2 separate regions of the Homo sapiens genome follow, and region 1 is linked to region 2. Evidence: promoter capture Hi-C in human tissues and cell types (Jung and others, 2019). All regions are on one chromosome and are shown on one strand. The core of a region is centred on a gene start or on the middle of the fragment in contact, and the rest is flanking DNA. Distances in the headings are between cores, read along the strand shown.

Region 1 (6,403 bases), core at 3,426-5,925, 100 kb before region 2:
AGTGGGGATTACAGGCATGCACCACCACGCCCAGCTAATTTTGTAATTTTAGTAAAGACGGGGTTTCTTCATGTTGGTCAGGCTGGTCTCAAACTCCTGACCTCAGGTGATCCACCCACCTCAGCCTCCCAAAGTGCTGGGATTACAGGCATGAGCCACTGCACCTGGCAATAAATTTTAAAAATAGGCTGGGCGCATTGGCTCAAGTCTGTAATCCCAACACTCTGGGAGGCCAAGGGTGGGCGGATGACCTGAGCTCAGGAGTTTGAGACCAGCCTGGCCAACATGGTGAAACCCCGTCTCTACTAAAAATACAAAAGTCGGCCGGGCACGGTGGCTCACGCCTGTAATCCCAGCACTTTGGGAGGCCGAGGCGGGTGGATCACGAGGTCAGGGGTTTGAGACCAGCCTGACCAACATGGTGAAACCCCATCTCTACTAAAAATACAAAAATTAGCTGGGCCTGGTGGTGCATGCCTGTAATCCCAGCTACTCAGGAGGCTGAGGCAGGAGAATTGCTTGAACCTGGGAGGCAGAGGTTGCAGTGAGCCGAGATCACACCACTGCACTCCAGCCTGGGTGACAGAGCAAGACTCTGTCTCAAAAAAATAAAATAACATAAAATACAAAATAAAAAAATAAAAATACAAATACAAAAATTAGCCAGTGGTGGTGGCGCGCATCTGTAGTCCCAGATACTCGGGAGGCTGAGGCAGGAGAATCACTTGAACCTGGGAGGCAGAGGCTGCAGTGAGCTGAGATCGCACCACTGCACTCCAGCCTGGGCAACAGAGTGAGACTTTGTCTCAAAAAAAAAAAATTAAAAAATAAAAAAAGAATGGGAAAGCTTTATATGTACAGACATCTAAAAATCTTCATGATATATATTGGATCTTTTTTTCCCCCCCAGGACCAAGACTTTCCAGGAAAAAAAAAAGGTGCAAAATAATTGTTGTGGTATTAAAATATGTGCACAGATTCTTTGATACTTCTCCCTTCAAGAGGTGGAGCCTAATGCCCCTTCCCTTTGAGTAGAGATTGGGCTTAGACGCTGGCTTCTCGGGAATAGAATGAGAAAAGAAGTGGCCGGGCCGGGTGGCTCATGCCTGTAATCCCAGCACTTTGGGAGGCCGAAGCGGGTGGATCACCTGAGGTCGGGAGTTGGAGACCAGCCTGACCAACATGGAGAAACCCCGTCTCTACTAAAAATACAAAATTAGCTGGGCGTGGTGGCACATGCCTGTAATCCCAGCTACTAGGGAGGCTGAGGCAGGAGAATTGCTTGAACCTGGGAGGCGGAGGTTGCAGTGAGCCGAGATCGCGCCATTGCACTCCAGCCTGGGCAACAAGAGCAAAACTCCGTCTCAGGGCCGGGAGCGGTGGCTCACGCCTGTAATCGCAGCACTTTGGGAGGCCGAGGCGGGCGGATCACGAGGTCAGGAGATCGAGACCATCCTGGCTAACATGGTGAAACCCCGTCTCTACCAAAAATACAAAAAATTAGCCGGGCGTTGTGGCGGGCGCCTGTAGTCCCAGCTACTCGGGAGGCTGAGGCAGGAGAATGGAGTGAACCCTGGAGGCGGAGGTTGCAGTGAGTCGAGATCGCACCACTGCCCTCCAGCCTGGGCGACAGATCGAGACTCGGTCTCAAAAAAAAAAAAATTCCGACTCAGAAAAAAAAAAAAAGAATGAGAAAAGAAGTGATGGTGACTGCAGAGACTCCATAAAAGGCACTGCCGCTTCCTCCTTGCCCTTTCTCTTGAATCACTGCCATGAAAACACGCAGATGGTCCCATGTGTCAAGCCACTGAGGACTCCAGCCAATGGCCATGTGAGCAAGTCCTGTTTGGAAGTAGGTCCTCTATCCATGTTTAAGCTTTCAGATGACTGCAGCCCTGGCCGATAGCTTGACTGAAACCTCTTGTGAGACCTTGAGCTAGAACCACCCAGATGAATCATTTCTGGATTCACAACTCTCAGAAACTGAGAGAAGTAATAAATGTTTGTTGTTGCATGATGCTGAATTTAGGGAAATTTGCTATGCAGCAATAACTAACTAATCTAAGAGTGTTAAGCAGGCTACTTTTTGTGTAATAAAGGAGATAAATAATACAGGCACATCTTGTTTTATCGAGCTTCACAGATACTGTGTTTTTTACAAATTGAAAGTTTCTGGCAACCCTGCATTGAGCAAGTCTATTGGCACCATTTTTCATTGCCCTTTTGTTTTGTTTTTCAGAGACAGGTTCTTATTCTATTGCCCATGCTGGAGTACAAATCATAGCTCACTGCAGCCTCAAACTCCTGGGCTCAAGTGATCCTGCTGCCTCAGTAGCTGGGACTACAGGTATGAGCCACTGTTCCTGGCTAATATACATATATACATTAAACAATACATATACATATATGTATATGTGTATTGTAGGGACAGGGTCTTACTATGTTGCCCAGACTAGTCTTGGACTCCTGGCCTCAAGCAATCCTTCTGCCTCAGCCTCCCAAAGCACTGTGATAACAGGCATAAGCCACCATGCCCTGGTGCCATTTTTCCAAAAGCAGATGCTCACTTCAAATATCTGTGTCACATTTTGGTAATTCTTGCAACATTTCAAACTTTTCATTGTTATTATATCTGTTGTAGTAAACTGTGATCAGTGATCTTTGATGTTACTATTGTAATTGTTTGGGGGCACCATAAACCACCCCCGTGTAAGACTGTAAACTTAATTGAGAAATGCATTTGTTCTGACTGCTCCATCAACTAACTTTCCCCCATCTCTCTCCCCTTCCTCGGGACCTCTGTATTCCCTGGACTAATATTAACATTGGACTAATATTAAAATTAGGCCAATGAAAGACCCTACAATGGCCTCTAAGTGTTCAAGTGAAAGGAAGAGTTGCACATCTCTCACTTTAAACCAAAAACTAGAAATGATTAAGCTTAATGAGGAAGGCAAGTCCAAAACAGAGACAGGCCAAAACCTAGGCCTCTTGCGCCAAACAGTTATCCAAGTTGTGAATGCAAATGAAAAGTTCTTGAAGGAAGTTAAAAGTGCTCCTCCAGTGAACACATAAGTGATAAGAAAGTGAAATGCCTTATTGCTGATATGGAGAAAGTGAGTGGTCTGCATAGATCAAACCTGCCACAGCATTCCCTTAAGCCAAAGCCTAATTCAGAGCAAGGCCCTAACTCTCTTTAATTCCATGAAAGCTGAAAGAGGTGAGGAAGCTGCAGAAGAAAAGTTTGAAGCAAGCACAAGTTGTCTTAACAAAAGAAGCCATCTCTATAACATAAAAGTGGAAGGTGAAGCAGCAAGCATTGATGGAGAAGCTGCAGCAAGTTATTCAGAAGATCTAGCTCAGATCACTGATGAAGGTCAACACACTAAACAAGAGATTTTCAAGGTAGGTGAAACAGCCTTCTACTGGAAGAAGATGCTTTCTAGGACTTTCATAGCTAAAGGGGAGAAGTCAATGCCTTGCTTCAAAGCTTCAAAGGACAGTCTGGCTCTCTTGTTAGGGGCTAATGCCACTGGTGACTTTAAGGTGAAGCCAAAGCTCATTTACCATTTTTAAATCCTAGGGCCTTTAAGAATTATGCTAAATCTACTAAGCTTGTGCTCTAGAAATGAACAGCAAAGCCTATATGACAGCACATCTGTTAACAGTATGGTTTACTGAATATTTTAAGCCCATTGTTGAGACCTACTGCTCAGAAAAAAAAGATTCCTTTCAAAATATTACTGTTCATTGACAATGGGACCTGGTCACCCAAGAGTTCTGATGGAGATGTACAAGGAGATGAATGCTGTTTTCATGCTGCTACCACAGCACCCATTCTGCAGCCCACAGATCAAGGAGTAATTTCAACTTTCAAGTCATGTTTTTTAAGAAATACATTTTAAGAAGGTCAGGCACTGGCCGGACATGGTGGCTCATGCCTGTAATCCCAGCACTTTGGGAGGCCAAGGTGGGTGGATCATCTGCAGTTAGGAGTTTGAGACCAGCCTGACCAACATGGTGAAATCCTATCTCTACTAAAAATACAAAAATTAGCTGGGCATGGTGGTGCATGCCTGTAATCTTAGATACTCAAGAGGCTGAGGCACAGGAATCACTTGAACCAGGAGGTAGAGATTGCAGTGAGCCGAGATTGTGCCACTGCACTCCAGCCTGGGTGGCAGAGTGAGAATTCATCTCAAAAAAAAAAAAAAAAGAAAGAAAGAAAAAGAAAAAGAAATACATCTTAAGGCCATAGCTGCCACAGATAGGTATTCCTATGATGGATCTGGGCAAAGTACACTAAAAACCTCCTAGGAAGGATTCACCATTCTAGATGCCATTAAGAACATTCATGATTCATGGGAAGAGGTCAAAATATGAATATTAACAGAAGTTTGGAAGAAGTTGATTCCAACCCCCATGGATGATTTTGAGGGGTTAAGAGTTCAATGGAGGAAGTCATCACAGGTGTGGTGGAAATAGCAAGAGAATGAGAATTACAAATGAACCCTGAAGACATGACTGAACTGCTGCAATCTCACGATGAAACTTGAACAAGTGAGGGGTTGCTTCTTAAGGATGAGCAAAGAAAGGGGTTTCATGAGATGAAATCAGCTCCTGGTGAAGATGCTATGAACATTGTTGAAACAACATAAAGGATTTAAAATATTACATAAACTTAGTTTGATAAGGCAGGGGCAGGGCTTGAGAGGATCAACTCCAATTTTGAAAGAAATTCTACTGTGGGTAAAATGCTATCAAATAGCATTGCATGTTACAGAGAAATCTTTCATGAAAGGAAGAATCCATCAATGGGCAAACTTCATTGTTGTCTTATTTTAAGACACTGCCATGGCCACCCCAACCTTTAGCAACCACCACCCTGATCAGTCAGCAGCCATCCACATCAAGGCAAGGCAAGACTCTTCACCAGCACGAAGACTATGACTTGCTGGGCCAGGTGCGGTGGCTCACGCCTGTAGTCTCAGCACTTTGGGAGGCCAAGGCAGGTGGATCCCCTGAGGTTGGGAGTTCAAGACCAGCCTAACCAACATGGAGAAACCCGTCTCTACTAAAAATACAAAAAATTAGCTAGGCTTGGTGGCACATGCCTGTAATCCCAGCTACTCAGGAGGCTGAGGCAGGAGAATTGCTTGAACCCAGGAGGTGGAGGGTGCAGTGAGCCGAGATCATGCCATTGCACTCCAGCCTGGGCAACAAGAGCAAAACTCTGTCTCACGAAAAAAAAAAAGAAGAAGAAAAAAAAGACTATGACTTGCTGAAGGCTCAGATGACCATTAGCATTTTTTACCAATAAAGTATTTAGTATTATTATTAATTATTATTATTAGTTTTTAGAGACAAGGTCTCACTCTGTTGCCTAGGCTGGAGTATAGTGGCACAATCATAGCTCACAGTAACCTCAATTCCTGAGCTCAAGTGATCCTCTTGCCTCAGCCTCCCAAGTAGCTAGTACTATAGGCGTATGCCACCACACTCAACTAATTTCTTTTTTTTTTTTTCTGAGATGGAGTCTTGCTCTGTCACCCAGGCTGGAGTGCAGTGGCGCGATCTCGGCTCACTGCAACCTCTGCCTTCCAGGTTCACGCCATTCTCCTGCCTCAGCCTCTGAAGTAGCTGGGACTACAGGCGCCCGCCACCATGCCCAGCTAATTTTTTGTATTTTTAGTAGAGACGGGGTTTCACCGTGTTAGCCAGGATGGTCTCAATCTCCCGACCTCATGATCAGCCCGCCTTGGCCTCCCAAAGTGCTGAGATTACAGGCATGAGTCACCCTGCCCGGCCCAACTAATTTCTTTAATTTCTAATTTTTTAGAGGTGAAGTCCTGTGATGTTGCCTAGGTTGGTCTTGAGCTCCTGGCCTCCAGCAATTGGACTCCCAAAGTGCAGGGATTACAGAGCCACTGCACCTGGCCTACAATAAAGTTTTGTTTTTGTTTTTGTTTTTATTTTTGTTTTTTTAATAGACAGAGTCTCCCTCTGCTGTCACCAGGCTGGAGTGCAGTGGCACGATCTCGGCTCACCGCAACCTCCGCCTCCCAGGCTCAACCTCAGCCTCCCAAGTATCTGGGCCTACAGGCACGCACCACCATGCCCAGCTAATTTTTGGTTTTTTAGTAGAGATGGGGTTTCACTGTGTTGGCCAGGCTGGTCTCGAACTCCTGACCTTGTGATCCACCTGCCTCAGCCTCCCAAAGTGTTGGGATTACAGGCATGAGCCACCACTCCTGGCCAAAAATTTTGTTTTTAATTAGCGAGGCGTGGTGGCAAGCACCTGTAGTCCTAGCTACTTGGGAGGCTGAGGTGGGAGGATCACTTGAGCCAGGAGGTCAAGACCTCAGTCAGTCATGATCCCGCCACTGCACTCCAGCTTCAGTGA
Region 2 (6,139 bases), core at 1,928-4,427:
GTTCCTTCCTTTTACAGGCAACACAAACCACAGATATCTGCCCTGGATGTCCTCTCTCTCTGACCAGGACTCTCCCAAAAGGGCAAAGGCCAAGATTTCCCCGGACTAGTCTCCCGCCCCATTTTCAGCAGCAGACCCACCAGAAACAGATTTACCTCCCACATCACAGAATTGTCTCCGTAGGTCTTCACTTCACTGGCATTGACCACTTTACCTTGAAAGGGCCCAAACCTGACTCCTTTGGCGATAAAACTACTGCAGAACACACCAAAATGTGGGACTTCACCAAACACCGTCTGCATGAGGCATAGACCTAGGGGAAAGCCGAGGCAGGAAAAGAGAATGAGGAGAGTTGACTCTGCATTAGTTCAGGGAAAGAAATCCATGCAAGGAGTCCTGCCTACCTTCTGGAAGTTGAAGGGAGTCTTTATCCAGAGTTTGAGGAAGAGAATCAGATCCTAGCAAAAGGCAGGTTAAAACAATTTTTCATTAAAAATGCATTATAAAGTGCTTTTATGAGGTGTTTCCCTCCTTAATTCCCTAAAGGTAACCATCATCCCAGTTTGATATTTATTTGTTGTTTCTATTTTTCCCTGCTCATTTTACATGGTCTGTTCATACACGATTTCACTGTAAACAATTCCATATACAATTTCTCATTTGAGACTCAGAACAGCCTCATGGAAGTTTATGTAATTAACCCCATTAGGCAAATTCAAGGAATTTGAGGATCAGAGGTAATGCCTGACTAAGGTCAGCGTAGCTAGCTGAGCTGGGACTGTTAGGTGTGAACTGCTGAAGGCTGTCATTGCATGTTAGCATAGAATCTGAACCTACCTGGGAGTTCGCTGCAGGAACCATTTCTCTCTTGGTCCTCAGCTCTCACTAAAACCAACCTTAGTCATGCAGTTAAGCAAGCAGGGCCTCAGAAGTGAGCCTAGAACAGCCCTGGCTCTCATGGAGGTACTTCCCCCTTCCCGCACTCTGCAGCCTCAGCTCCACCTGGAAGCGCCTCTTCCCGGACACTCCCGTTCCCGCCTGCATTCCCGTCCAATTCGACTCCCAAATGGTGTGAACTCCCTTTACCAGAGCTGTCTGGGGGGACCAGGAGGCCTGAAATCGCATGGTGCAGGCTGGCTGGGTGCTCCAGGCTGGGAGTGACCCCGTACAGAACGAAGTGCAGGTCCTCCTCCGTGAACTGGAACCGAGCAGGGGACTTCCCTTCTTGGTTGGAGGGTTTGGGACCATCCTCTGACTGCTTGCTGGGTGAGCAAGGTAATAACTGGGAGGTCCTCAGCCCCTCAGGTAACAGAGAAGCATCCGCAGGGGGCGGTGGAATTAAAGTGTCAGGTCCACAACACGGGCCACTCTCGTTGTCGCCACCAATGATTTGGTGGCCCAGATCTTCACTGCTGGCACCCGCGTACTCGTGGCTGCTGCTCAGGAAGGGCGGCACTTCCCTGGGGACGTGGGGAATTGGGTACCACGGTGGCAGCTTGCTGTACCAGGGCAGATCGTAGAGAGGCTCCCTCTGTAGGCCCAGACCCGGGCTCAGCAAGGGAGGCGCCATCCGGAAGGGGAAGGGGGGCATGGCGGGGGCAGCAGACGCTGCGGCCTCCAGCTGCCGGAAAGGTTGGAAGTCTTCCTCCACGGTGGCCAGGCTGTTTCTGTAGTGTCCATAGGACGGGAAAGGCGTGTAGTACGCGGCCAGGTTCTGCGGGCTGCTCTCCGGCGGGTAGCACACCTTGTCCTGAGGCACGGCCTCACTTGGCCGGGGTAGAGCCATCCCGGGACCGCACGCTCGGCGGCTCTGCAGAAAAGCGGGCGCCGCTGAGGACACCGCGCGGGAGCTTCCCGGGGTCCGACCCGCGCCTCCCCACCAGCCTCCTCCACCCCAGCCAGCCCCAGATCCAAGGGAACAGGATAAACGCCCCCAGTCCGATCCCGCCAGCCCGCTCCCACAATTAAGACAAAACGAAAAAACAGCAATAGAAGCAAACACAAAAAAGCCCCAAACGGAAATCTGCCGGGATCCTGCCCTACTCTAAATTCCGGGTTAGTGTTGCCTTCCCCTTCCCTCTCCAAGCACCCCTTCCCTAAGCCCGGCCGCCTTCCCACACCCGCTCTCCGCTTTCGGCCCCCAACCCGGTTCCTGCAAAACCCATTGAAGTTCCCTTTCCTTCCTTCTTCTCAGTCCTACAAAACTCGTTGGTAGGGTCTGTGGGAGCCGCGGGGCCCTGCCAACCTCGGGGCTGGGCCGGGAGCCGAGCGCAGGCGGTCGGAGGGCAATGGAGCAAGCGACAGCTCCAGGCGCTCCTGGGCCCTCGGCTGGGAGGGAAGAGCCGAGGACCCTGGGTCGCACCGCGCAGATGGAGACGCGCTCCCAGAGCCCCCGGGCAGGTCCAGGGACCCCGCGACCTGCTCTGGCCCAGCGGTGTGACCCCGCGGGTCCTGGCGGTCCTGACTGCCCGCAGGGGAGGGGCGCGCCACTTTTGGCTGCCCTAGGATGCGCCGCCTGAACCTCTTTTCCCTCGCGGGCAGCGTCCGCCACATTCCCCGGGTTCCTCGGAAACTCCAATCATTCTACCAGGACTATTGGGGCCTGGGGTAGCCCCTCGGGAGCCGCGTGGACGAGCCCTGGCCAGGTGGGAGCGAAGAGCCTCGGCGACTGCCAGTCCTCCCGCCCCCGCACCGCCGGGAAAGGATGGCGTTTTAATAGACAGGCAGCAAGTTCACCGAGGCTGAAGAATGAAGCCCCTTCAGGGCCGGCGGGTCTTGAGATCAATGAGCCCAATAAGAAAACCAAGCAGGGTCATGACTCAGAAATTAAAGAACACGGGGTCAGGAGAAGAGGTCAGCCACGACACAGGCAGCGGCCCGTCTCCTCCCGATCCTCCAAAGGCGCCCTTCTCCTAGCCTCCTCCGACCTCAGGGATCTGCAACTTGGGATTCAAAGCCCCCGAGAGGGCAGAACGACCATCCAAAACGAACTGCGCCAGCGAGTGCTGCCGCCCTCCCCAACGGCCCTGGAAGACCACCGCCCCGGGCCCCAGGCGCGTCCTGTCCCGTGCCTACCTCCGACACCACCTCCAAGAGCGCCACCGCGGAGCGGGCGCCTCCTGGACGCTGCGGGGCCACTCGGGCTCGGTAGGCCACTCGGGCTCGGTAGACTTCGGGCGGGCCCTGAGGGCTGAGCCAGGCTTAAGAGGGCGGGCGGGGCCGCGGGGCATCGACAGGTCGAGGGTAGGGAATTGACCCGGCCCACGCAGATCCCCGCGTCGTCTTCTCCCCGCCCACCGCAGCCATTGGCCGACTCTCGACTCGCCCTCTGTCCCCTGGGGTCGCTCACTTAACTCATCAGTTTTCCAAACCCTCCCTGGGACCCTAGTGGCGAGCACTCGCCGCTGGCCTTCTAGGGCAGGCAGTATTGCCGCTCCAGGCGTGCGGAGTCGGGGAGAAAAAAACCGAACACGTGTGCTACCCAGGGCCCCCAGATAAGCCCCTCCGCGCGCACACACACCCTGAACCGGAGTCCAGAAGGCCGGACTCGCGTCCCGGGGTCGAGCCCCTTACTCTCCGCTCCCAGTTCGGAAGATCCCAGCCTGCCCGAAGGCGGCGTCTGACCCGCTGGTGGACCTGGTGGGTGTCTGTTCCTGATACCTGGGGACGAGGCGGGAGCGCCTTGAGCGCTGGGAAGCTTCGCCTCGCGAGTCCCCGGCAGTGACACGTGGGAGCGTTGGGCCCGGCACCCCCGACGCTTCCGAGGTTTCGGGTGGTCGTTTTGCTCTCTCGGGGGCTTTTATTCCTTAAGTGGCTTTAAACGACCGAGGATGGGCCTCCCGCGCCGCCGCAGCTGTCACTTCCTTCGGGAAAGGCTAGCGACCTTGGACGCGCAGGCTCTGAAAACCAAGGTCCAGACCCATACCGAGCGCCCAAAGACCGCATTTGAATTCTCCTCGCCGGCCATTGAGGGAGAGAAAGGAACGCTTAGTTCCATTCACATTCACAGAAAGAAGCGCCGAGGGTGGGGGAAACGCAGTCTTGCCGGGTGAGCCGGGACAGGTTCCTCGCCTGCCCCCCGGCCGCTGCTTCCTCTTAGCTGAATGGGGAGCGACCCGCCCCGGGCGCGGCCTTCGGGGCTGAAGACTGAGGTGCAGCCTCACCCCCGGCCTGGCAGCGGCTTGGAAGAGAGAGGGAAAGGAGGAACATCTACCCGGCTAAGAGACGCCGCCAGAGTCCCTAAAGCTGGCGGGGGACGGAGGCCGGGGTCCCGGATCTTCAGAGCGCCCGCAGCCGGGCTTCTGGGCTCCTCGGTGCGGGGAACCTGACCCTGTAGCCTTCGCCAGGGCGCGGCGGGGCTGCAAGAAGGGAGGAAGGAGTGGGACTAGAGCCTTCGAGGGCGCGGGCGGCGTGCACTCAGCCTTGTCTCCCCGCGCGCCCTGCCGCCTGCTTGCCCCCTTTGCTGCACCGGGTGGCCCTGGTCCCCGCGCCCGCCCGCCCCCGACGCCTTCGCGTGGTTCCGCGCTGCCCGCGGCCAGCCCCGTTTCGCTTCGCAAGGAGCGTGTTGTTTTCTCAATCGAAATGGGATCAAGATCCCAGGGTTTCCTCGTCTCCTTGTTTTGAGGTGATAGGATCTTAGCCAATAGATCGAAAACGTGAAAAGTACCCGTCGCCTCTTGTCCCAAGTGCCTCTGTGGAAGGATCATTTACTTGGAAAAGCAGAATAAATTCTGTTGCCGTTTTCCTTCCGGAGGCGTGCTCACCCCAGAGCTCCTAGACCCACTGGCATTCGCTATACTTCCTCCTGGGCTTTACAGGTAGGATTTCAAGAATGATATGGGGGCACCTGGGTGATCTGTGGGTTGCAGGTCCTCAAGAGGCCGTTTTTTCGTGCACGGAAGTGTCGTAGCTTTATTTTAGCGGAAGCAATATCAAACCTTATCTTAGAGGTTTGTTTTGCAAAGAATCCAGAGTTTACTATATTTGACACTATTTTAAAATAACACTTGCTTGTTTTAAGAAGTTGGGAGAAATCGATAAAAGAAAAGTTGAAATCCATGCTTCCCATTTCTACTCTAGGAGATAATCCTGATCAACAGTTTGGTTTGCTCCCTACCCCCATTCCTTAAAAACAAACAAACAAACAAACAAACCAAAACCCACTATACTTTTAGATTGTGTAGGATTACGTAGGATTTTGTAAAAATAAAAATGGGATTATACTTCACTCGTTTCTGCAACGGCCTAGCTCCTACTAGTAATCATTCCCTATCAGTATAGTAGAATTAACCTTATTTTAGTATTATCATTATTATTTTGAGACAGGGTCTCACTTTGTCACCCAGGCTGGAGTACAGTGGCATGATCTTGGCTCATTGCAGCCTCTGCCTCCTGGGCTCAAGCTGTCCTCCCGTCTCACCACCCGGCCCCTTCCCCTCAACTAGCTGGGACTACAGTCATGCGCCACCAAGCCCGGCTAATTTTTGTATATTTTTGTGGAGACAGGTTTCACCATGTTGCCCAGGCTGATCTCAAACTACTGAACTCAAGGGATCCACCCACCTTGGCCTCCCAAATTGCTGGGATGGCAGACCTGAGCCACCACACCGGCAAATTTATTCTTTATAATGGTTGCGTGGTACAGAATTTCCATTTTATAGGTGTGCTCATAGTTTATCAGCCTCCTCTTGAAAGGTATTTAAGTTGTTGCCAGTTTTTCAATACTTCTGGCAGTGTACAGAAACACTGATACAGATACATAGTTGTGCTACTGTGCCTTGTAGAAGAAATATCCAGGTGTGAAGTTGCTGGATCAACAGGTATAAACACTGATCATTTAAACAAGTACTTCAAGACTGGGCGCAGTGGCTCACACCTGTAACCCCAGCACTTTGGGAGGTTTAAGTGGGTGGATCACTAGAGGTCAGGAGTTCAAGACCAGCCTGGCCAACATGGTGAAACCCCATCTCTACTAAAAATACGAACATTAGCCAAGCATGGTGGCACAAGCCTGTAATCCCAGTTACTCGGAGGGCTGAGGCAGGAGACTAGCTTGAATCCAGGAGGCAGAGGTTGCAGTGAGTCAAGATCACGCCACTGCACTCCAGCCTGGGTGACAGAGTGAGATTCTGCCTCAAAA

Evidence for each region. Contacts are between HindIII fragments. The study calls those that stand out against the background at their distance.
Region 1: a contact is called between a fragment that was not itself captured here and the fragment with the promoter of PRDM14 in region 2, in 2 of the 25 tissues and cell types used here (bladder and dorsolateral prefrontal cortex).

Annotation. Positions count from the first base shown.
Region 1 is chr8:69,965,288-69,971,690 of GRCh38, forward strand. No RefSeq gene overlaps it. Among named protein-coding and RNA genes, the nearest start is that of PRDM14, 100 kb to the right of the region's middle. The HindIII fragment of the contact is 6,629 bases long and covers 1,362-6,403 here.
Region 2 is chr8:70,068,075-70,074,213 of GRCh38, forward strand. It overlaps PRDM14 (PR/SET domain 14), which reads right to left and starts at 3,178. Exons shown (of 8, transcript NM_024504.4): 1 at 3,076-3,178; 2 at 1,087-1,810; 3 at 405-458; 4 at 156-313. The coding sequence starts at 1,786. RefSeq lists enhancers at 2,672-3,401, 3,402-4,131, 5,977-6,139. The HindIII fragment of the contact is 14,761 bases long and covers 1-5,453 here.